Regions from separate parts of the Homo sapiens genome. Here regions 1, 2, 3, 4, 5 and 6 are each linked to region 7. The links are contacts of gene promoters, found by promoter capture Hi-C in blood cells and fetal thymus (Javierre and others, 2016). All regions are on one chromosome and are shown on one strand. The core of a region is centred on a gene start or on the middle of the fragment in contact, and the rest is flanking DNA. Distances in the headings are between cores, read along the strand shown. Region 1 overlaps HORMAD1 (HORMA domain containing 1). Region 2 holds the start of H2AC20 (H2A clustered histone 20). Region 3 holds the start of SV2A (synaptic vesicle glycoprotein 2A). Region 4 overlaps GOLPH3L (golgi phosphoprotein 3 like). Region 5 holds the start of MTMR11 (myotubularin related protein 11). Region 6 overlaps GOLPH3L (golgi phosphoprotein 3 like). Region 7 holds the start of CA14 (carbonic anhydrase 14).

Region 1 (3,133 bases), core at 314-2,813, 450 kb after region 7:
GTAAATTTTATAATTTCAAAAAATTTAGGTGCTAAAAATATTTGGAATGGAAACCAATTGTTTCAATAATGATAAAACATATGTACCAACTGAAACAGGATGTATTGCAAATAGTACCTTCATCATAGTAAAAAAGTTTCATGGTCAAACAAACATCATTAGGTAAAGGCCCCAGATTTTGCATTAGGATATAAATCTTGCGAATGAGGAGAATGCTTGCTTTCTTGGTGTCAGTAGACAACATGCTAGATTCGTTGCTTTGGTTTTTACTAGAAGAGAATCACATATTAATTTATTTTATAAAACCTGTGGCTTCTAATATCATAACTTTACATTTTAACTATTTGAGATTCTTATTTCTATTATAGCATTAAGCTGTTAACTTGAAAGTTACCATGTGTTTTAATGTCACTATTATAAAATTTTAATATTAATATCTGCTAGAAATAATAACTTAATTTTACTTAAGTGCATTTTATATGAAGTGTTTAAAGAAAGCACATTATGTTTTAAAATTATATTTCTATATTTCTAATCACCTAAGTTCTCTTTCCACAATTAAAATTGCTTATTATTAGCCACAGAATCCTGGCTTGAAGCTACTGCAAGCCACCACTCCATTTTGCATAGCCACATCTTGATGGTTAATTGGGGATGTCCCCGCAGTTTCAGAATGAATCCTGAGGTTTAGCTATATAGCATTAATATGAATAAGTGGTAATCTGTAATACAAACAGAAAACTATAGAACAATACCTTATGAAGTCCATGAGTGGTCCATTATTGGTGTATTTGAATTTGAATTGGTAACATTCTGAAATTGTCTTAAATAGAAAATATCGCAGTTATGCTTCTGATATTCAGTACTAGCTGCTAAATAGCTATATTCTGTTTTGTATGACTCAACATTTAGTCAATACTTTTTTCTGCCATATTAATCCCTATTGATCCATTGAAACTTTTGATTCCTCATAGTCAGTTTTCATGGTTTGGGTTTGGGGCTTCAGTCTTGGAGAGACATTTATTTCCCAACTCATTGTAATGTATGTTATTGTAGGGAAAAGAGAGATCAGACTGTTACTGTGTCTATGTAGAAAGGGAAGACATAAGAGACTCCATTTTGAAAAAGACTTGTACTTTAAATAATTGCTTTGCTGAGATGTTGTTAATTTGTAGCTTTGCCCCAGCCACTTTGACCCAACCACTTTGATCCAATCTGGAGCTCACAGAAACATATGTTGTATGAAATCAAGGTTTAAGGGATCTAGGGCTGTGCAGGACGTGCCTTGTTAACAAAATGTTTACAAGCAGTATACTTAGTAAAAGTCATCGCCATTCTCTAGTCTCAATAAACCAGGGGCACAATGCATTGCGGAAAGCCGCAGGGACCTCTGCCCTTGAAAGCGGGGTATTGTCCAAGGTTTCTCCCCATGTGATAGTCTGAAATATGGCCTTGTGGGATGAGAAAGACCTGACCGTCCCCCAGCCCGACACCCATAAAAGGTCTGTGCTGAGGTGGATTAGTAAAAGAGGAAAGCCTCTTGCAGTTGAGATAGAGGAAGGCCACTGTCTCCTGCCTGCCCCTGGGAACTGAATGTCTCGGTATAAAACCCGATTGTACATTTGTTCAATTCTGAGATAGGACAAAAACCGCCCTATGGTGGGAGGCGAGACATGTTTGCAGCAATGCTGCCTTGTTATTCTTTACTCCACTGAGATGTTTGGGTGGTGAGAAACAAATCTGGCTTACGTGTACGTCCAGTCATAGTACCTTCCCTTGAACTTAATTATGACATAGATTCTATTGCTCACATGTTTGTTGCTGACCTTCTCCTTATTATCACCCTGCCCTCCTACTACATTCCTTTTTACTAAAATAATGAAGATAATAATCAATAAAAACTGAGGGAACTCAGAGACCGGCGCCGGTGCAGGTCCTTGGTATGCTGAGCGCCGGTCCCCTGGGCCTACTATTGTTTCTCTATACTTTGTCTCTGTGTCTTATTTCTTTTCTCAGTCTCTCGTCCCACCCGACTAGAAATACCCACAGGTGTGGAGGGGCAGGCCACCCCTTCAGTTATTTATACCACATGGAAGGAACTCCTTAGCAGGCAGATAAGGGAGGCAACATACCTCAGCAGAGTGGCTAACACAGGGCATAAATCTTTGCTATACTGTAACCACAGGCAAGCCACTTAAGCCTTAGTTTAAGTATTAGTTTCCCCAGCTAAAAAAGAGATTAAAGACAGTACATATCTCATTGATAGTTGTGAATAAATATTCACAAATGGGATAATTTATACAGGGTACTTTATAAAGTACCTGACATATAGTAAACATTCAATAAATATTATTATTGTATCAACAAGGTTGCTAATTTACTGATAGAAAAAATGCACAACTATATAACATATGAAAATAAATGAACATTTTCTGAACAATCAATTAGTTTTCTGAACACAATCTATTAATTCACAGCCTTTACCCAAATGATCTGCTTTGTCAGCATGGATACATATTAAGCATTAATCGCAGGTGTGAGTATCAAAGAAAAGACACATTCTCAGCCCTCCTGAAGCCTGAATACTTCTATTGCTTTCTTTATATTTCATTGCTTACATAGTGATGTTTTTAAACGTCTATTTTTAACACCAGTTTAAATCTACCTCTCCTTGACTGAATGAAACGTTATATTGTAACAGCTATAGCGTAATGGGTAAACACCCAAATTGTGAACTGGCCTTCCTAGGTTCAAAAACCTGGTTCTGCCACTTCAGCCACTATGACCTTAGGCAAGAAACCCCTTGTACTTAGATTTCCTCATCTGTAAAGCGGAGATGCTAATAGTGGTTACCTCATGAAGGTTGGGATGAATAAATGAGATAATGCACATAAAGCCCCAAAGAACAGAGCCTAATATAAAGTAAGCACTCAGTAGATCTTTCCCCCTTGTTTCTTATCTTCTGGTTTTCCCTTTCACGTTCTCCCTTCTCTCCTTTAATGGTAAGATAAATAGGTAGCTATGAATGGATTGGGATGAATATTCGAAGTTTAAGGATGACTTTCTTACTTTCCTAAAACTCAAGCCCTTTCATAATTCTAAAATGTAGTATAAAAAATACTATAAAGAATTA
Region 2 (2,846 bases), core at 50-2,549, 370 kb before region 7:
TACAAATTAGAAAAAGGCGCAGAATTTTGAATATTCTTGTCGCCCAATCAGGACAAGGCTGGGACCCGGCTGCGCGGCCTTCGTCCAAAATACACAGAACGGCTGGTATCCACAGGAGGCCCCATCGCACGGCAGAACTGGTGACCGGACACAAAAGCTGCTGCCAAGCGTCAGTCATACAGAGCTGTCACGCAGTGTTTGCGGAACCCGGGCTGAATTGTGTCCTGGAGTTCTCTTAAATGACAGCCGAACTCAGCCACTTCGTTTTAGAATGAAACAGACCCAAGGAGCCACCAGGGCGCGTGTGGGGCGGGAGTGGGGGCGGGTAAAGAGGCGGATTCCCAACAGCCTAATTGAGAACCGACTCCTGGGAAGGCTAAGCAGCACAATGAGTAAAGACACGCTCTAGATTCAAAAGCAAATCCAATGACGCACTGGGGACCTCGAGTTCCAAATAGTTAAAAAGCTACGTATGCCATTTCCCATGACCTTCACACTAAAATAACTTACTTTATGAAAAGAAACTAAGGGAATAAGTGAACAAGCTCTTTTCTAGTGATTAGGTGGGTGGCTCTGAAAAGAGCCTTTGGAGTCAAGCAGCCGGCGACTCGAGCGAGCGAGCGCCAGGTCCCGGCAGGGACTCACTTGGAGCTGGTGTACTTGGTGACCGCCTTGGTGCCCTCGGACACGGCGTGCTTGGCCAGCTCGCCGGGCAGCAGCAGGCGCACGGCCGTCTGGATCTCGCGGGATGTGATGGTGGAGCGCTTGTTGTAGTGCGCCAGGCGGGAAGCCTCTCCCGCGATGCGCTCGAAGATGTCGTTGACGAAGGAGTTCATGATGCCCATGGCCTTGGACGAGATGCCGGTGTCGGGGTGGACCTGCTTCAGCACCTTGTACACGTAGATGGAGTAGCTCTCTTTGCGGCTGCGCTTGCGCTTCTTGCCGTCTTTCTTCTGGGCTTTGGTGACGGCTTTCTTGGAGCCCTTTTTAGGGGCCGGAGCGGATTTTGCCGGTTCAGGCATGGTAAGACACAGTACAAACGCGGCTTAGCCAAGAAAAGAAGTAAGAGAATGGGCGGGCCTGATTCTTTTATAACCACCTTATGCAAATTAGGGCTCCGAAAGTCGTTCATTTCCATTGGTCCGTGTGCGGACCTTGCGTTTTCAGCAATGCGTACGTAACAACACCGACTCTTGACTTGATTGGCCGGTTCTGAAGCCATATTAGGACCAATGAAAAACTCGTTCTTGACCCCACCCCTAGGAAAGCTTATAAAGGCTTTCCTCTTGGTTCTCTTTCAATCTTATTTTGTTGCGAGGTTCTGAGCGTTGTCTGTGTTTAACCTTGATTTCAGTCATGTCTGGTCGTGGCAAACAAGGAGGCAAGGCCCGCGCCAAGGCCAAGTCGCGCTCGTCCCGCGCTGGCCTCCAGTTCCCGGTAGGGCGAGTGCACCGCTTGCTGCGCAAAGGCAACTACGCGGAGCGGGTGGGGGCCGGCGCGCCCGTCTACATGGCGGCGGTCCTCGAGTACCTGACCGCCGAGATCCTGGAGCTGGCGGGCAACGCGGCTCGGGACAACAAGAAGACGCGCATCATCCCTCGTCACCTCCAGCTGGCCATCCGCAACGACGAGGAACTGAACAAGCTGCTGGGCAAAGTCACCATCGCCCAGGGCGGCGTTTTGCCTAACATCCAGGCCGTTCTGTTACCAAAGAAAACCGAAAGCCACAAAGCCAAAAGCAAATAAATGCAGACAAACAAACCAAGACCAAAGGCTCTTTTTAGAGCCACCCAAGTTTTCAAAAAAAGAGCTAATGCGCTATTTCGTGATCAGCCCTTCATTTGACACTTTGGTGGCTCTTAAAAGAGCCTTTGGGGTGAATGAGTATGGTGTCAAGCCTCTTAATTACTTGTTCTTGCCAGGCTTGTGACTCTCCGTTTTCTTGGGCAACAGGACAGCCTGGATATTGGGCAAGACGCCGCCCTGGGCAATGGTGACACCCCCGAGTAACTTGTTGAGCTCTTCGTCATTCCTCACGGCTAGTTGCAGATGGCGAGGGATGATGCGCGTCTTCTTGTTGTCCCGAGCCGCGTTGCCCGCCAGCTCCAGAATTTCCGCGGTCAGGTACTCGAGGACCGCCGCCAGGTACACCGGGGCGCCTGCCCCGACCCGCTCCGCGTAGTTGCCTTTGCGCAGCAAGCGGTGCACTCGCCCCACCGGGAACTGGAGACCAGCGCGGGACGAGCGCGACTTGGCCTTAGCGCGGGCCTTGCCTCCCTGCTTTCCGCGTCCTGACATTACGGCTAAAATTGCAGTTACAGCTTCTTTTACAAGGAGAAGAATGTGGAAAGAATAACCAATTTGATGTAATTTATAAGAGCTACCGGGAGGGGTGAAGGGAAGTCGTTTGATTGGCTAAAAGCGGAGCCGTATCTAACAGCCAATAGAAAAGCAGAAAGCCGCCTCTTGGTTTGCGTCCTGCACTGAAAGGAAATGACGGATTTTGTAAGTATCTACCAATCGCTGAGAGCCACATTAAAGCCCCTTATTTGCATGCCAGGATCTTTAAAGAGAGCAGGCTTTCAAACAAAATACTGGTTTTGTTTTACTGAGAGGCACTGTGGGTTTTTGTTTTGTTTTGCTTTGCTTTGTTTAGTTTACAGCCGGGAAATCCCAATATGGACCCTAAGGAACTGCAGAAGACATCCTTAGACGGAGAGTTACTCTCACGAAAGAGTAGGGGATTCTGAAGCCGATGATCCCCTTGAGCTCTAAACTGCCAAGTCCCGCCCTTTCTGTCTCGTCACAGCCAAATTCCCTTTAAAAATACATGTACTACTAAGGCT
Region 3 (3,152 bases), core at 235-2,734, 340 kb before region 7:
CTTTGAGCTGGTGAGGAAGTGGTGCTATTTTTAGCCCCCAAAACAGCACAGGGTGGCTAAGCCTGGGGGAGTGAGACAAGACTTGGAGAGGTGGAGGTTAAAGGAGACAAGGTTCAGGGTTACAAGGTCCTAGGCTGGCTGACTTCACCTGACAGGAAAAAATGTGCCCAGGAGATTTTCTGCAGAGGGTGGAGACAGGCAGGGGACTCCAGAGCAAATGCTTTCTTTCAGAACAGCTCATCCAGCCCTGGGTCCAGAACCCCCCACCCTCCCAGTCAAAGCCCCTGACTTTGGGGTCCACCCAGATCCCCAGGCCTTCCTAGCTCAGGTGACAAGGTCATTAAAAAGCAATCACTTATCAAAACGTCCGCGGGGGCGGGGGTAGAATGTGGGAGGTGCGGGAGCACCCCTTCCCCATGACAGCCCGGTCATCGAACTTCAGCCCCCACCCAGGACCATCAAGACTGCGCCTCCCCTCCCCACATCCTACCAAGGTTAGGAAGATAGGAGCACCCACAGTTCTGAGGGATAAAAATGAGGGTGTCAGCTGAGAATGCACACTGAGGAATACGGAGAGGCAGAGAGGGGGACGCAGGGAGAGACCTCCGCATGCACAGACATAGAGACCGCCCCTATCAGCATTTGCAGCGACCCCCCCACACCCCATCTTGCCTCAGCTCCGGAATAAGGGAAAAGCCCCCAGAACTGACTAAATCCCTGCTCTGAGCACCTCCTCCACCCTTGGTCCTGCTGCTAGACAAGTGTCCACCTTCACTCAACATCCCTTCCCCCCACCCCGGAGCAACTGCCGCCAGCCCCCGCCATCCATGCCCCCAACACCTGGCGGCTCTACATCTCTGTCTCCCCAGTATTTCCATTCTTCACTCCCCTTCCCTCCATCCTTCACCTGCCCTTCTTCCCCTGCCCCCCACCCACCCAAGTCCAGGCGTGCACACTGAGGCAGCATCCATTCTCCAGCCCCAGCCAAGGTCATTTATCATTCATCCTGGGGGTGGGGGGACGTCAAGGTGAGGAGGGGATAGGAGTTTGAGGGAACCTCATCCCACCTCACAACCCCACCACCACGTTAATCTCCGAAGGGGATAGTGGGGACTTGGTTAAGGTAGAGAAAAACACCCCTCCTCCCCATTCACCAATATTATACATATGCGTGTGTGTGTGTGTGTCCTGAAGAGCACAACTGAAATAAATGTCCATCCCCAAACCACCACCAACCCACCAACCCCCCTCACCCCTAGAGAGGGGATCGTCACCCTCCCCATAAGCAAAGCATCGGAGGATAAAATGGCTGCAAGGCAAGGCAAAGATGCTTCTGCCAGGGGCGGGGAGGAGGTGAGCGACTGAGAAAGGGGTCTCACCTGGTCTAGGTTCCCCGGGTAAGGAGTCCCGGGCGAGGACGGGGGTCCCGGCCGCGGGCGGAGGCGGCAGCGGCGACTGCTCCCGGCACCAGGGAAGCGGCAATGCAGACCTGCCACCCCCCTTCCACCACTCCAGCCCCGCCTCCGCCCCCCCCTACCCCGCGCCACTGAGCATCGGGAGAGACCATTGGTGGGGAGAGGAGAAAAGAGGATGGGGAGGGAGTCAGGGCACGGGGAGAAATGATGAAAGGGCCGGAGGTTGTCACAAGAACAGCTGGAAATGGCACCCAGCCCTTCCCAGGCCCTTCCTAGTAAAAGATAGAAGGAACTAAAGAAAAAAACAGTGATGTTAGGAAGACAAGTGGGAAGACAGGGAGATGGGGAATGTGGCAGCCCCTTCCTTAGCACCCCAGTCTCAGTATGGCAGGACCCAATAATTTCAGGGGCTTTTGCTGCCTTCAAAACACCTCCCTTGCCTTCTCCACTGCTCTCAAACTCCTTTTTCACAACAGTCTCCCAAATCCAGAGTGCTCCTATTCCAAGTTTACCTGGACATTTTAGAGAAAGCAGAGATAACAAGGTGTGGTTTCTATCCTGAACTGCCAGAGTCAGAGACCCCTGGATTCCTTCCATCTCTTTCCTCACAAAACAGTCCAGGTTACTTATTTACAGTGGACACCTCCTCATCCTGTCCATTCAGTTGGTGGTAGCAGAAGTACTGGGGAAGTTGAGGGATTTTTACAGACCTGACCAACCGGACAGTTCCCCTTCCATTAATTTGCTCCAATGACTCAAAAAGGATCCTCTCAATACCCTTCTCCATTTTCTCTTACTCTCCTCTACCTCCCTCCCCTCCCCTCCACACACTTGTACTTCCCGGGCAGGAAGAAGTAAATTGTTTCAGCTTTTCCCTTCATCTTTCCTTTGCTCTTGCATCAATAACCTGGACTCAGAGATCCAAGACATGCCACTTGGTGACACTTGATGACCATCCCTGCCGAAGGAGTGAGAGGGAATATGGTGATTTGGGGAAATACATCCTGAATGTGTCTATGCCAGATAAGGTCAGGACCTTCCAGACAGCACTGACCTGGGCTTGGACCTGGGTTCTCACTGCTAACAAGCTGTCAACTCTTGGTCAAGTTCTCCACATCTGTGAACTTCAGGTTTCTCATCTGGAAAAGGGGGGCTTGGACTAGATACTGCATCAGGTCCCTCTCAGATCTAATAGCGTGTGATTCTGCCTTACTAAATGTGGAGGCTTCAGAATGCTGATATATATACATGGAGAAGGCTGACAGGCTATGTCCGAAGAGACCACACAGGTAACATTTGCCAGGTTGAATTTACCTCTGACAGGGACACGGGCCTGGGCTTTGCAGACTCCAAAGCTGGATCTTGGAAATAATCATTCATGCCAACAAAGTTCACAATCTTCTGAAATATAAAGCCATAATACATAAATATTAATTTATCATAAATATTTAACTGTCACTCAGACTGAAAACTCATATCTACATGTCTAGTACATTCTCTCCCTGAAGCCAAATCAGAATCATAATGTCAATGTATAAATGCACAATGACATTACTGGAGGATTTGTATCTTTAATGGCATCTGGCCATCTGCAATAAGCAGCCATGCCAATGGGTCCAGAAAACTCTTCTTGGCAACAATCTTCTACCCCCACCTCTTTGCTATTGGCAGCCTTGCCAGCACTCCTGGACTACTCTGAATGTGACGGCTTTCCAGGATGGTGCTTGGACTGGCCTC
Region 4 (3,065 bases), core at 502-3,001, 390 kb after region 7:
TAACTGAGCTGGGGCATTTTTGTGGGGCTAAGTAGATTTGGCAGAGGAGAGAAATGAATAAATAATTCATTTAATTATTTCTAATCAAGAGGATTTAATGTCAGGTCTGGGTCATCTGTATTAACCCTTTGACAGTTTGTTGTTCTATAATGGTCAAGAAGCACTATCCCATTAAAGTATAATAAATGCTGAACATCAGCACAGCTCAGTGCACATCCTCTTTATATCCTCAAATACTGGACTTTATATCAGCATGCTTTCAATACCAAATTAGCCCTTTAAATAGGATCTTTCTTAATAAAGCTTCTCATTGCCCTCACTACTGAAGTAAAAAACGTGTTAGAGATTTGGCCAGAAAGATGGTTTTACTGAAATAAGACTGATGACTAGGAGCACATCTATGGATTAAATATAGACAAAACTACTCCCAGAAACCTTAAATATAGACAGACTTTATTAATTTATGTAGGAAGCCAAAAATAGGAAATAAAAAGATCTGGAGTTCAGATATACTGATATATTCAGCAACTGAAACTTACAATTCCTTCAATTCAGTCAGAGCAGAGACATTTAAAGTAGTCTGGAGGGGTGGGTGCAGTGGCTCAAGCCAGTAATCTCAGCACTTTGGGAGGCTGAGGTGGAAGAATTGCTTGAGCCCAGGAATTCAAGACCAGCCTGGGCAACAAAGCGAGACTCTTGTCTAAAACAAACAAAAAAAAGCTGAGTATGGTGGCACGTGCCTGTAGTCCCACTTAGTTGGGAGACTGAGGCAGGAGGATCCTTGAGCCCTGGAGGTCAAGGCTGCAGTCAGCTGTGATTGCACTACTGTACTCCTGCCTGGGCAAGAGCAAGACCCTGTCTCAAAAGAAAAAAAAAAAAAAAGTGGCCTGGGGGAAACAGGACAGTCATATACCCCAAGAATGGAAATTTTCATGCCACCCCCCTTCCTTCCTTACAAATTCTAATGCTGATTGCATGAACGAGGTGTTGAGAGAGACTTTTCTTCATTTAGACATTTGCCCTAGTGAATGAGGGAGCAAGAGAATGCTAAGAGGGATGAGAGAATATATTTCTGGCTCTAGGACTTTGACATCCAGGTAATTGAATCTGGGACATTCTCATTAGGTTAGAAAAGGAAAGATGAGAAAATCACTAGCAGGATATGCAATTCCAGAGACCATCTGCTCCAAAAATTAGTTTTGTTTCTCATTGCTCCTTATTCAGCGACAGTTATTTCAATAAGCTACATTATTTAGCAGAGTCTGAGAGACAAAGGCTGTGAAAACATGTATTTATGATAGAAAACAAACTCAGAAAAATATAATAGATAGTTCACTTTTTATCTCATTCACATTCTATAGCTGGAGAACTCAAAATCCCATTTAGATATTTCTGCTTATCCAAAAGCACACTGGGTGAAACTAAACCACCAAATGGGAGAAAATGTTCATTGGGTGTGTGTGGCTTCACCCAGTTTATTTACCTATGGAGTGGAAGTGTAGGGAGAAATAAGGTCTGCTTATAATGGTCAAGGTCTATGGAGAAGCCCTGAAGTTGCTCTCCCCAAATCACAAGTCTGATTCAAGAAAAGGAAACAAAAATGATGAAAACATCTCATCACACAAAACTCAGTGATGGGGTCTCTGACAGTCACCAGCCAGCAGGGGAAAAGGAGAAATCCACCTGCCGGCTTTAAGATTTATTGAAGGCTGCCAGCACAGCCCAGATCATTTCTGTGGCACTAGGCTTTGTCCCTTCCACTTCAGGGTCCAGTTCTACTAAGTCCTTGGCTCGATTCATTGCCACATCATACTTGTCATCTGTCAGAGAGGAGAAGACATTCTCTAGCACATCAGAGGAGTGGGCTAGCACCAGGAGTGCTAGTGTTCGCTTGTCCATACGCTGAGGGTCATTTACCCACCGCTCTAGTACACTATCTTGAAGTTTTTTCACTAGTCGCTGTTTCTCTGTTGTATTGGTCACTGGATGAGTAGTCATGTCAAATAGCAGGAAATTCTGCTTCTCAGTGGTTAGAATACCTTTCTCTACTAGGTTCTTTGCGATGCGCTCTCGTACATTTCTCAGCTGGTACTGTAATTTGAAGGGGTTCCAGGTCTCACCTATGAGAAAAAAGAAATAGGACATAATGAACTGAAAGAGAAAAGCAAAATGAAACATGTAGTTGTTTGGAAACTTGAATGGCTAAAATGTTTAAAAGCATAATCTTCATTCCTCAATTCATTTAATCCTTAGTCCTTTATAATCTGGCTTTGACTCCAACCACATTTCACATTAAACCAGCTTCAAAAAATGTCACCAAGGACTTCCATATTGCTAGAGCTTATAGACTTTATTTCTGTTCTTATGTGACCTCTGTGACACTGTAATTATTTATGTATTTTTCAAATTCTATTTAGGACACCAGTCTCTCCCAGATGATTTCTACTCTATATTGTGGAAGTTCTATTTGCTGGTGAAGCTAAGAGGACTGAGGTTCCCTACCCTATTTGTAGAGCAGAAGCTCTATCCCAGGCCTGGTAGGCTGACAATATTTAGACTTCAATTGCTCCCATTCCAGCTTGTTCGTAGATTAGAGATTCTGCAACAGAAAAGGCAAGTCAAGAAGACCAGGGGCTAACACCTCTTTCCCCCAGCACCTACTCATACAGCAGGTGGGTATCACTGTAGGAGAAGTGGGCCCTTGTGCAGAAGTTCTGCCCAGGAGGGAAGGAAGGCCTGAAGAATGAAGAGCTCCAAAGCTCTGCCTGAGAGGACTGACTTTATTTGGAACACAGTGTGGAGAATTCTATGCCTAAGGGTGTTGAAAACCATAGAGATCTTGGTGGAGAGCAATTACAAGGTGCTGCTAGCTCTATGGCACTGGTATGACAAACCCAAATGGCAAAGCCTCCAGAAGTTTAACAGGCAGAACCAGAGAAACAGAAAGCCAAGAAAAGTCCTTCTGGAATCATGACCAACACTGGGGGTTGGGAAGACTGTGTGCTTGCACCAGGCTGCACCCACTCAGGAGCAATCAGAGCAGGACGTGGGGCTTGACTTGAGAG
Region 5 (2,997 bases), core at 400-2,899, 320 kb before region 7:
AGAGGAAGGATGAGGAGGGAGTTCCAACAACCCCAGTGAACCCCTTCACCAAACCCCCCCCCAACTTACCAGCCTCTAATCGTCCAATGTTGACCAGGGCAAAATCGTATTCACTGTTCAAGGGAGTGTCCTAGACGAAACACGTGACTGGGTAGACATCTGAAATCGCCCTCATTTTCCTACCCTGGCAGCCCCAACCCCTTCTAGGGGGCAACAACCCTAGAGAGAGTTCCCACTGATTATCAATGATACATTCAAAAGACAGCCCTTAACCCATAATGTTTGTCTAAATCCTGCTAGACTCCCCTACCCATTTCCCACTAGCTGTCATTTCTGTGGCCCCAACCATCTCACCTGATTCCACTGCCATCCACAGGGCTGGAAGGTGACCCTAAAGTTGGTACAGATCAGGGTTCCAGACAATTCTGGTTCCAGGCCCTTCCTCACCCCTGGGGCCCATGCTAGGATCTGCTCCCCTAAAGGGGAAGAAGGGAAGCCCTGTTATGACTGTTCCCAGTGTTGCCCACACTTGGATACACCCACCCCTCCAAGAAAGGGAGATCTAAATAGGGAAGATTAAAATCCTCCCCAAAGCCCACTACAATGTAAGCTTATGAGGAAAGATAAATGTTTTTTAATTTCTGTAACTAGAACAGAGCCTAGAACAAGGCCTGGCACATAGCAGGCACTAACTATGTATCGAATAAGTAAATTTGAAAAGGGGTAACAGGGTCAAGGAAACAGAAGGAATGTCAAGGTCCAGCTCTCAGCCAGCTCTAGAGGCTGTCAGGGAGGACAGCGAGCCTCAGGCAGACGTACTTCGAGCCACGAGAGGAACACAGGGGTATCTTTGGTGAGGGCATGAAACAAGATTGGCGTAGGATGAAATTTGGAAGTCTTTGGAGAGTGATAGGGCATTATTACCTGGGAGGCATCTGGAGGCCAGGCAACTGCTAGGCTGACGACTCCTGGGCTCCGGCATCCTATTTTCCTGGACAGACTTTGGTCCAGAGGGTTGAGGGGGGTCTAGAGTTAACCCCTAGGCTCCCCAACTCCCCAGAGGCAGCTGCCTGTAGAGGCCTACACTCACACTCTCGGGGGAAACTGAGATCAGTGTCTGTGGGGAGCTCCAGACCTAACAGGGCTGGTAAACAGTAAAGGGAGGGGCTGGTTAATGGATAATGAGACAACGAACTTGAGACTGAGAAAGACGGACCAGGCTCCATCAGCAGAAGCTGATAGACAGACACACCCTCCTCCTCCTCCTCTAGAGCCTTTGCTTCCCCCTTTTATCTCCACCTCATCCCCGTTCTCACCCTCTTGCCGACACCCCCCAAATTCCTTCTCCTTACCCCCATCTCTGGCTCCTCCTTCTGGGGGGCAATGTTGAAACTCTGGCCCCGGCCCCCCCACCACATTTCTCTGGCTCCATCCGGGGACACAGCAGTTAAGGGTGGGAAACCTCAAGGATGCTCACCCACCTCGGGGAGAGGCTGAGTCTTGTTGAGAAGAGGGGTGTTAGGGAGAGGGGTAGGGGGTTGGACACAAGGGAAAGGAGCATTTGACGTGCACGGAGCAGAGTTTGGGGGTCCTTGGAAAGGTGTGTCCAGCCCAGCCTGAGAAGTCTCCTCGGAAACTTCAGTCGACTCTGGAGAGGGCGGGAGAGATGCCCAACCCCTTAAAGGAGAATACACACAATTCTGGAAAAGTGGAGAGGAAACGGTGGAGTCTGAGACGGACGGGTGGGGAAGAAATGGGGACTGAGAGAAAAACGACTCCCTTCTTTACCCCAATCCCAGACCCTGTTCTCTTCCTGTTCATGAGTACTGGAGACCGTTTGAGGGGAGCAGTTCTATTGATTATGAAGCTGGAATCATCTGGGCTACCTGTCTGGAGTGTCTCAGTGATGACTTCCCTTAAAAGCTCCGTTCTTTTGTCTTCTCAAAGGGGTTTGGGGCGGGGAGAGGGGTAGGAATGTGAAAGTGGTTCAAGCCTCCTTGCCGCCTCTTCCAGAAGAAAATGAAAATTAGACCTGGGGGGATTTTTGTCAGCAGAGGCCCAAGAATTAGGTGAGGAAGCAGGGAAACTGGTTAAAGTGGTTTTGCATATCTTTCTCTAGAGGGCATGACACAGACATCATGTGAAGACTGCAGTGGAGAAGTATAAAAAGAGATGGAAATGTGTCCAAGATGCAGACACAAGTACAGTTTGTGTGCAAGTCTTGGGGATGTGGGTGGGACAAAAAGATCTTACCAGTTAATCTTGCCCATCACGTAGATACACAACCAATAGGCAATAAGTGCCCATTCCCGTATGTGACTCCACCCCTCCAACCCAGACACCAGATCTCCAAATGAATGATTCATGTTCAGGACTTTCACAGGTGAGGGCTGGAAACCTCTCTTCAGCTCAGCAGTCCATCCCCCGTCCCTCCCATCTGCAACCCTAGAAGCAAAGATGGGTAAGGAAAGCTGGGAACAAGGAGAGAAGGAGCTGCAGCTCCTTTAAAGGAGGGGGACTTGGGGACAGCAAAGCAAAAATCTTTATTTAGACATGAAAAAGACAGAAAATAAAATACAAAATAAGAGTTAATGAGCTGCTGTTTTATTGCTTTTGAATCTACAGAGGCAGCAATCCTTAGATGGGGGCCCCAGTTTTCCAAAGTGACACTCAATTTTCCCCTCCCCCCAGTACACCACCCTTCTGGCCTCAGCTTTCAGTTTCCTGTCTTGGCTGCAACTGTGGAAATAGTGAAGATATTGTGAGACAGAAAGTCAGTCTGGAACAAAGAGGTATACACCTGCTAAGAAGGTGGCCCAGAAGCCTGATTCTAGAAGTCCTAAAGGCTACAGAGCACCACCACCCCACCTGCCCCTAATGCATTCCATGGGCCTCAACCTCTTGGGGGAAGAAAATATTTCCCAAGGTCTGTTGTAAAAAGAAAATAGGGACCAGGCGCAGTGGCTCACGCCTGTAATCCCAAGCATTTTGGAAGGC
Region 6 (2,939 bases), core at 121-2,620, 430 kb after region 7:
AGTTTCACTCTTGCTGCCCAGACTGTAGTGCAATGGTGCGATCTCAGCTCACTGCAAACTCCGCCTCCTGGGTTTAAGCAATTCTCCTGCCTCAGCCTCCCAAGTAGCTGGGATTACGGGCATGCACTACCACGCCCAGCTAATTTTTGTATTATTAGTAGAGATGGGGTTTCACCATGTTGGCCAGGCTGGTCTCAAATTCCTGACCTCAGGTGATCCACCCGCCTCGGCCTCCCAAAGTGCTGGGATTACAGGTGTGAGCCACCATGCCCAGCGATAATATGATAATTATAATTAAATATTATTTACTTATTCGTTAAACATATCTTCCTTTTGCCAGTTGGGTTATTCAAACTTCTTACTTGGACTTGTTGCCCTTTATGACTAGAATATCTTGTTTCAAAAAGGAGAAGAGAAAAATAATGTATAGAATTTTCCTATTTCCTCCTTAATATTTGAGGCAATGGAATGGAAAATTTGAAGTAAAAATAAAACTAATAAAATCATTCAGAATTCCTTACAGTAGTATTTTCCCTTTTTCTGACATTATTGATGCCTAGTTAATGTTTTTTATAGGATCCCAAAATCTTTTTCCAGGAGTGAGCTTTGCTGGGGTATTAAACATTTGAACAAGAAAGATATGGATAAGACCTGAAAAATAACTCATATGCCAAATATTATTGTGAAACATAATAATCTTTTATCTTAATAGGAGGCATAAATTAAAATCCATATGAATCTGGCCAGATGCAGTGGCTTATGCCTGTAATCCCAGCACTTTGGGAGGCTGAAGCAGGTGGATCACTTGAGGTCAGGAGTTTGAGACTAGCCTGGCCAATATGGTGAAACCCTGTCTCTACTAAAAATAAAAAATTAGCCAGGCGTGGTGGCATGCACCTTATAGTCCCAGCTACTCAGGAGGCTGAGGCAAGAGAATTGCTTGAACCCACGAGGTGGAGGTTGCAGTGGGTTGAGATCGCACCGCTGCACTCTAGCCTGGGCAACAGAATGAGAGTCCATCTCAAAAAATAAAAATAAAAATATAAAAAATAAAATCCATAAGAATCTATTCAAGGAGGTGAAATTATTTGGGTCACACTAAACAGTTAACGATCCTGAACAATTCTCTTTATTTCAGGAAGAAATACAGAGAAACATGTGAAACTTGCTTTGTAAGTATGTCTTTTTTTTTTTTTTTTTTGAGACAGAGTCTTGCTCTGTTGCCCAGGCTAGAGTGCAGTGGCGCAACCTTGGCTCACTGCAACTTCTGCCTCCCTGGTTCAAGCAATTCTCCTGCCTCAGCCTCCCGAGTAGCTGAGATTACAGGTGCGTGCCACCACACCCGGCTAATTTTTGTATTTTTAGTAAAGATGGGGTTTTACCATATTGGCCAGGCTGGTCTTGAATTCCTAACCTCATGATCTGCCTGCCTTGGCCTCCCAAAGTGCTAGGATTACAGGCGTGAGCTACCGCACCCAGCCAGCATGTCCTTTTTAAACTGCAAAGTCAGATATTTGTTTTTGTTTTGTTTTTCCTGTTTTGAGACAGAGTCGTGCTCTGTGGCCCAGGCTGGAGCACAGTGGTGTGATCATAGCTCAATGCAGCTTCGAACTCCTGGGCTCAAGTGATCCTCTCACCTCAACCTCCTGAGTAGCTGGGACTATAGGTTCACGCAGGGCTGTTTTCATTTTTTTGTAGAGATTGGGTCTCATTTTGTTGCCCTGGCTTGTCTTGAACTCCTGGCCTGAAGTAATCCTCCCATTTTGGCCTCCCAAACTGCTGGGAATACAGGCAGTGAAACACCACGCCCAGTTGCAGAGTCAGTTTGAATGTAAATTCCACAATTTATTGCCCAAATGATCATTTAACTTTGACTCCTATAAAGAGAATGATACCTGCCTTGCAGGATTAAACAATAGAAACTGCAAAATGTTTTGAAAATAAATTATACAAACAAAATATGGAGGCAAAAGTGATGAAATGGCTGACAGCAAGTTTATAGGCACAGTGGTTACAGCCAAAATCCCAAATTCAAGTGGGCAGCTTTGTCTCAATATCAATACTAGATATTTTATATTTTGGGAGAGTACTGTGTGCATTTGGGGATTGGAAGAATTAGGGAGAAGATCTTAATGAAATAGCTTAAGCTATATTTTCCTACTATTAAAACAGGTCTTTGGTCTTCCAGTTTATTTCCTTTTATACCAATAGTAAATAGTTATTTGGGGTTAATATGCCTGGATATAATAAAAAACAAAAGTTAATTTTTTTAACAGCTTATGTTTAAAGAAAAAAACCTGACAAACAAGCCCTTCTGATACAGTTGCCCTATTCACAATCGCAGTAGCTACTGGGAGACTTATTGTTCATTTTGCGCGATTAGGAAACTAAAAGGAAAGACCAGGTAGTAACTTAAATTAGACTTTTAATTTTTTTTTTTAAGACAAGGTCTTGTTCTTTGCTCGGCCTGCTATTAATATTTTAATTATAATAAAATGCTTTAGGATTGAGTCACTTTTTAAGGCGGCCAATTTTCTTCATTCATAGCCAATAATCAACAAGTTGGACACTGACTGACTGTGACTGATTTTAAAAACCTTTTTGGGCTGGGCGTGGTGGCTCACATCTGTAATCCCAGCACTTTGGGAGGTCGAGGCAGGCGGATCACCTGAGGTCAGGAGTTCGACACCAGCCTGGCTAACGTGGTAAAACCCCGTTTCTACTAAAAATACAAAAAATTAGCCGGGCGTGGTGGTGCATGCCTGTAATCCCAGCTACTTGGGAGGCTGACACAGGAGAATTGAACGCGGGAGGCAGAGGTTGCGGTGAGCCAAGATCGTGCCACTACACTCTAGCTTAGGTAACAAGAGCGAAACTCTGTCTCAAAAAAAAAACAAAAAAAAACTTTTTGATTAGTGAATTTTTTTTACCAGCTTTAA
Region 7 (2,921 bases), core at 146-2,645:
GAGAAGAAAAAGGGAAATGACATCAGCAAAATGGCTTGGCTTTGCAGATCAATCACAGGGGATAGAAAGGCACAGTGAGCTCCTGTCTCTGCAGGAGCTGATGATCCAGCACATGCATTATTCTGTTCATTTGGCTTTTATCCTGCTCCCTTATTTAGCTTCTGCTCCCTTTGTTTGGCTATTTATTGCTACTCGGCAGGAGCAAGGAGGGCAGAGGGAGCTTCAGATGGGTGCATCCTCCTGGCTGGTGCCTCTGGTGAAGAGCATGGAGGAGAAAGAGGTTTCAATGTCTGGCTTGAAAGTATCTGTGGGTTTCACATTCTCTAACGAGGGATTTAGGATGTACATTCCAATCGGGATTTCCAGTCCCGTGGGGAGCAAACATCAGTTCACATTCCTGAGACGTGCAGCCTCCATGCTCCACGGACGCAGCTCCTTGGTGGCAGGTTTCATTCAGTGCCACATGTCCTGCCTCAGCCCTTTGTTGGGCTGGAAGGAAGACCCTGAGCCCCTCTTCCATCTGGATCACATGGTCTCTCCAGACCCTCCCCTCTCTTTCTCTGGAAACCACCTTTTTCTGATGGTGGTAGTGATTGTTCCTAAAGTCTCTCCTTTCCTCCTGCCCTGGCCTCTCTGCCGGAGGTCAGTGTCCTCTTCAGTGACAAAAGCCGCCCTAGATCTGGGCTCCCTGGAGAGGGAGGTGGCTGGGTCTGGCAGTTACAGCCGCTGTCTCTCCATGGTGCTGCTACACCCCTCCCCCACTGGGCATACAAATGGGCTTTATCCAGCAAACAACGCTCCCTCCCCGCACTCCCCCCACCCCAGGCCACACAGGCACGTGGACCCAGGCCTCACCGTGGGAAGGGGGTGGTGGCAGGCACAGAAGAGATTGCTCCAGATGAGTTCTCCTTGCCTCACTTCTCTTCCTTAGAACTTAGGACACAACTCAGGTTTTAGTTATTGACTTCCTCCACCCCTCCCCTGCACCCTGAGTCCCTAATTCCTTCTTGTTATATATCTCCTAATTCTGGACTCTTCCCATTCCAGGGCAGCTCAGATTATGCAGGGAATTGGGAACAGGTACCCCCACCATCTGCCGCATACCACCCAGGGAGCTGCTCCTCAGAGGAGAAATCAGGCGGGGGGATGAAAATACAGTGTCCTTTTGAGGGGGCTGAGTTGAACCCCAAAGCCCCTTCCTTGACCCTGCCTGCTCCAGGGAACACCCATCTAAACAGCATCTGTGTGACTAGCAGAGGAAGGAAGAGCTCACCCCAGCTGGGCTCCTGAGCCAGGGCCAGGGCTCCAGTGAAACTTGCCGCGCTCCAGCTCCGAGTGGGGCCATCCTGCATGCCTAATTGGCTATTTAAGGAGCTGTTCACCAGCAGCCCAGGCAGCACCCCCGTCCCCACATACACCAGTTCAGAGCCACCTTAAAAGCAGGAGGCAGTTGTAAAGTCGCTGGCCAGCTAGTGGAGTGGAGACTGCAGAGGGAGATAAAGAGAGAGGGCAAAGAGGCAGCAAGAGATTTGTCCTGGGGATCCAGAAACCCATGATACCCTACTGAACACCGAATCCCCTGGAAGCCCACAGAGACAGAGACAGCAAGAGAAGCAGAGATAAATACACTCACGCCAGGAGCTCGCTCGCTCTCTCTCTCTCTCTCTCACTCCTCCCTCCCTCTCTCTCTGCCTGTCCTAGTCCTCTAGTCCTCAAATTCCCAGTCCCCTGCACCCCTTCCTGGGACACTATGTTGTTCTCCGCCCTCCTGCTGGAGGTGATTTGGATCCTGGCTGCAGATGGGGGTAGGTACAACTAAATGTCTGTGTGTGGATTTGTGCTGATGTTCACATGTCGCCAGGTGTGCTTAATGGGGGGAGGAGAGGTGTGAAAGGAAGCCTAGAGGCTGGAATAATAGGCTCAGAGATGAGGAAAAAAGAGTGGGGTGTGGAGGAGACCACTTCCCTTCTTTACCTTTTGTCTCTCCAGCCTTGTTGTTATTGGAGGTCGGGGAGAACTAGCGGCAGGCAGGCAGAGTGTGTACACATGCAAGTGCTGGAATCTCTTTGCAGGCTACAGATTTTCTCCAGAGCTCTTTCCCCCACTGCCCTGGTCCCAGGCAGGACTCCTGGACTTCTTTATTTACAAACTCCTCCAAATAGGGAGTCAAAGAGGCCTGGAGTAAAAAGATGGATAGATGGGGGTAGGGGGAAGAATACTTCCTGCCCAACTCAGACCCTGATCTCCAATTCATCCCCTTTTGGCCAAGATTCCCTCTTCATTCTGTGGAGCGACTAACTCCCCAGTTATCCTCTGAAAGTGGCAGTAAGAGTCAACATTTGTTTGACATTTTACAGTTTACAAAGGACTTTCAGGAGCTCCCAGGAGATGAGGAGGGATTCTTGGGAGAACAGGCTGAAGCGCTCCAGGAGTGTCCCCAGGAACTCCTAGACCTCATTTTTGTGTTTCCTGTGCCTAGCACAGTGTCCAGCACATACTAGGTGTGTAACTGAGGTTTGTGGAAAGAGCAGGGTGAGGTGGGTGTCCAGAGAGCAGAAGGCAAATGCAGAGAGGATGGGGGCAGGCAGGCAGCCAAATGGAGAGTCACAAATCTCATCTGAGGAGAAAGAAAAAAAGAGGGAAAGAGGAGGAAGAGACAGAATAAGTGTGTTGAGGCTCTGACCAGAGTGGACAGGCACCTTTACAGACCAGGGAGTTTGAGTTGTTGGGGGGTCCCACAGATATGGTAAAATGAGAGGCTGCCTCCAGCTCTCCCTTGGGCTAGCAGAATAGGTCAAGGATAAGAGCAGGACATCTCACAAGTTTGAGGAATTTAAGGGAATAAGAGACAGAGAGAGGAAGGAATTTAGGATTTTTCTCCAGAGTTTCTAGTAGTATGAATATTGCAGCATAAACCATGA

Evidence for each region. Contacts are between HindIII fragments. The CHiCAGO score rates a contact against its expected background, and 5 or more counts as called.
Region 1: a contact is called between a fragment that was not itself captured here and the fragment with the promoter of CA14 in region 7, in 1 of 17 cell types (M2 macrophages). The highest score is 5.5, in M2 macrophages.
Region 2: the fragment with the promoter of H2AC20 here is called in contact with the fragment with the promoter of CA14 in region 7 in 1 of 17 cell types (neutrophils); the score reaches 5.5 in neutrophils.
Region 3: a contact is called between the fragment with the promoter of SV2A here and the fragment with the promoter of CA14 in region 7, in 7 of 17 cell types (neutrophils, monocytes, naive B cells and 4 more). The highest score is 12.0, in neutrophils.
Region 4: a fragment that was not itself captured here is called in contact with the fragment with the promoter of CA14 in region 7 in 1 of 17 cell types (M2 macrophages); the score reaches 5.6 in M2 macrophages.
Region 5: the fragment with the promoter of MTMR11 here is called in contact with the fragment with the promoter of CA14 in region 7 in 1 of 17 cell types (neutrophils); the score reaches 6.2 in neutrophils.
Region 6: a fragment that was not itself captured here is called in contact with the fragment with the promoter of CA14 in region 7 in 1 of 17 cell types (M2 macrophages); the score reaches 5.0 in M2 macrophages.

The regions. Positions count from the first base shown.
Region 1 is chr1:150,708,139-150,711,271 of GRCh38, forward strand. It overlaps HORMAD1 (HORMA domain containing 1), which reads right to left. Exons shown (of 15, transcript NM_032132.5): 8 at 756-823; 9 at 118-269. Among named protein-coding and RNA genes, the nearest start is that of HORMAD1, 11 kb to the right of the region's middle. The HindIII fragment of the contact is 3,217 bases long and covers 1-3,133 here.
Region 2 is chr1:149,885,619-149,888,464 of GRCh38, forward strand. H2AC20 (H2A clustered histone 20) reads left to right here and starts at 1,300. Exons shown (of 1, transcript NM_003517.3): 1 at 1,300-1,793. The coding sequence starts at 1,357. The coding sequence ends at 1,746. H2BC21 (H2B clustered histone 21) reads right to left here and starts at 1,064. Exons shown (of 1, transcript NM_003528.3): 1 at 1-1,064. The coding sequence starts at 1,022. The coding sequence ends at 642. H2AC21 (H2A clustered histone 21) reads right to left here and starts at 2,347. Exons shown (of 1, transcript NM_175065.3): 1 at 1,851-2,347. The coding sequence starts at 2,298. The coding sequence ends at 1,906. RefSeq lists enhancers at 1-260, 38-117, 528-617, 688-977, 1,298-1,367 and 4 more. The HindIII fragment of the contact is 4,135 bases long and covers 1,267-2,846 here.
Region 3 is chr1:149,916,360-149,919,511 of GRCh38, forward strand. SV2A (synaptic vesicle glycoprotein 2A) reads right to left here and starts at 1,485. Exons shown (of 13, transcript NM_014849.5): 1 at 1,380-1,485. RefSeq lists a silencer at 1,329-1,398. The HindIII fragment of the contact is 16,072 bases long and covers 1-3,152 here.
Region 4 is chr1:150,646,629-150,649,693 of GRCh38, forward strand. GOLPH3L (golgi phosphoprotein 3 like) reads right to left here. Exons shown (of 5, transcript NM_018178.6): 5 at 1-2,120. The coding sequence ends at 1,693. Among named protein-coding and RNA genes, the nearest start is that of ENSA, 19 kb to the left of the region's middle. RefSeq lists an enhancer at 237-738. The HindIII fragment of the contact is 2,900 bases long and covers 302-3,065 here.
Region 5 is chr1:149,935,230-149,938,226 of GRCh38, forward strand. It overlaps MTMR11 (myotubularin related protein 11), which reads right to left and starts at 1,650. Exons shown (of 17, transcript NM_001145862.2): 1 at 1,353-1,650; 2 at 925-1,000; 3 at 355-476; 4 at 70-130. The coding sequence starts at 1,418. OTUD7B (OTU deubiquitinase 7B) reads right to left here. Exons shown (of 12, transcript NM_020205.4): 12 at 2,583-2,997. RefSeq lists an enhancer at 916-1,440. The HindIII fragment of the contact is 11,640 bases long and covers 609-2,997 here.
Region 6 is chr1:150,684,692-150,687,630 of GRCh38, forward strand. The region is part of intron 2 of GOLPH3L (golgi phosphoprotein 3 like); the gene reads right to left. Among named protein-coding and RNA genes, the nearest start is that of GOLPH3L, 11 kb to the right of the region's middle. The HindIII fragment of the contact is 3,143 bases long and covers 1-2,939 here.
Region 7 is chr1:150,256,379-150,259,299 of GRCh38, forward strand. CA14 (carbonic anhydrase 14) reads left to right here and starts at 1,396. Exons shown (of 11, transcript NM_012113.3): 1 at 1,396-1,805. The coding sequence starts at 1,751. RefSeq lists an enhancer at 1-280. The HindIII fragment of the contact is 8,593 bases long and covers 1-2,921 here.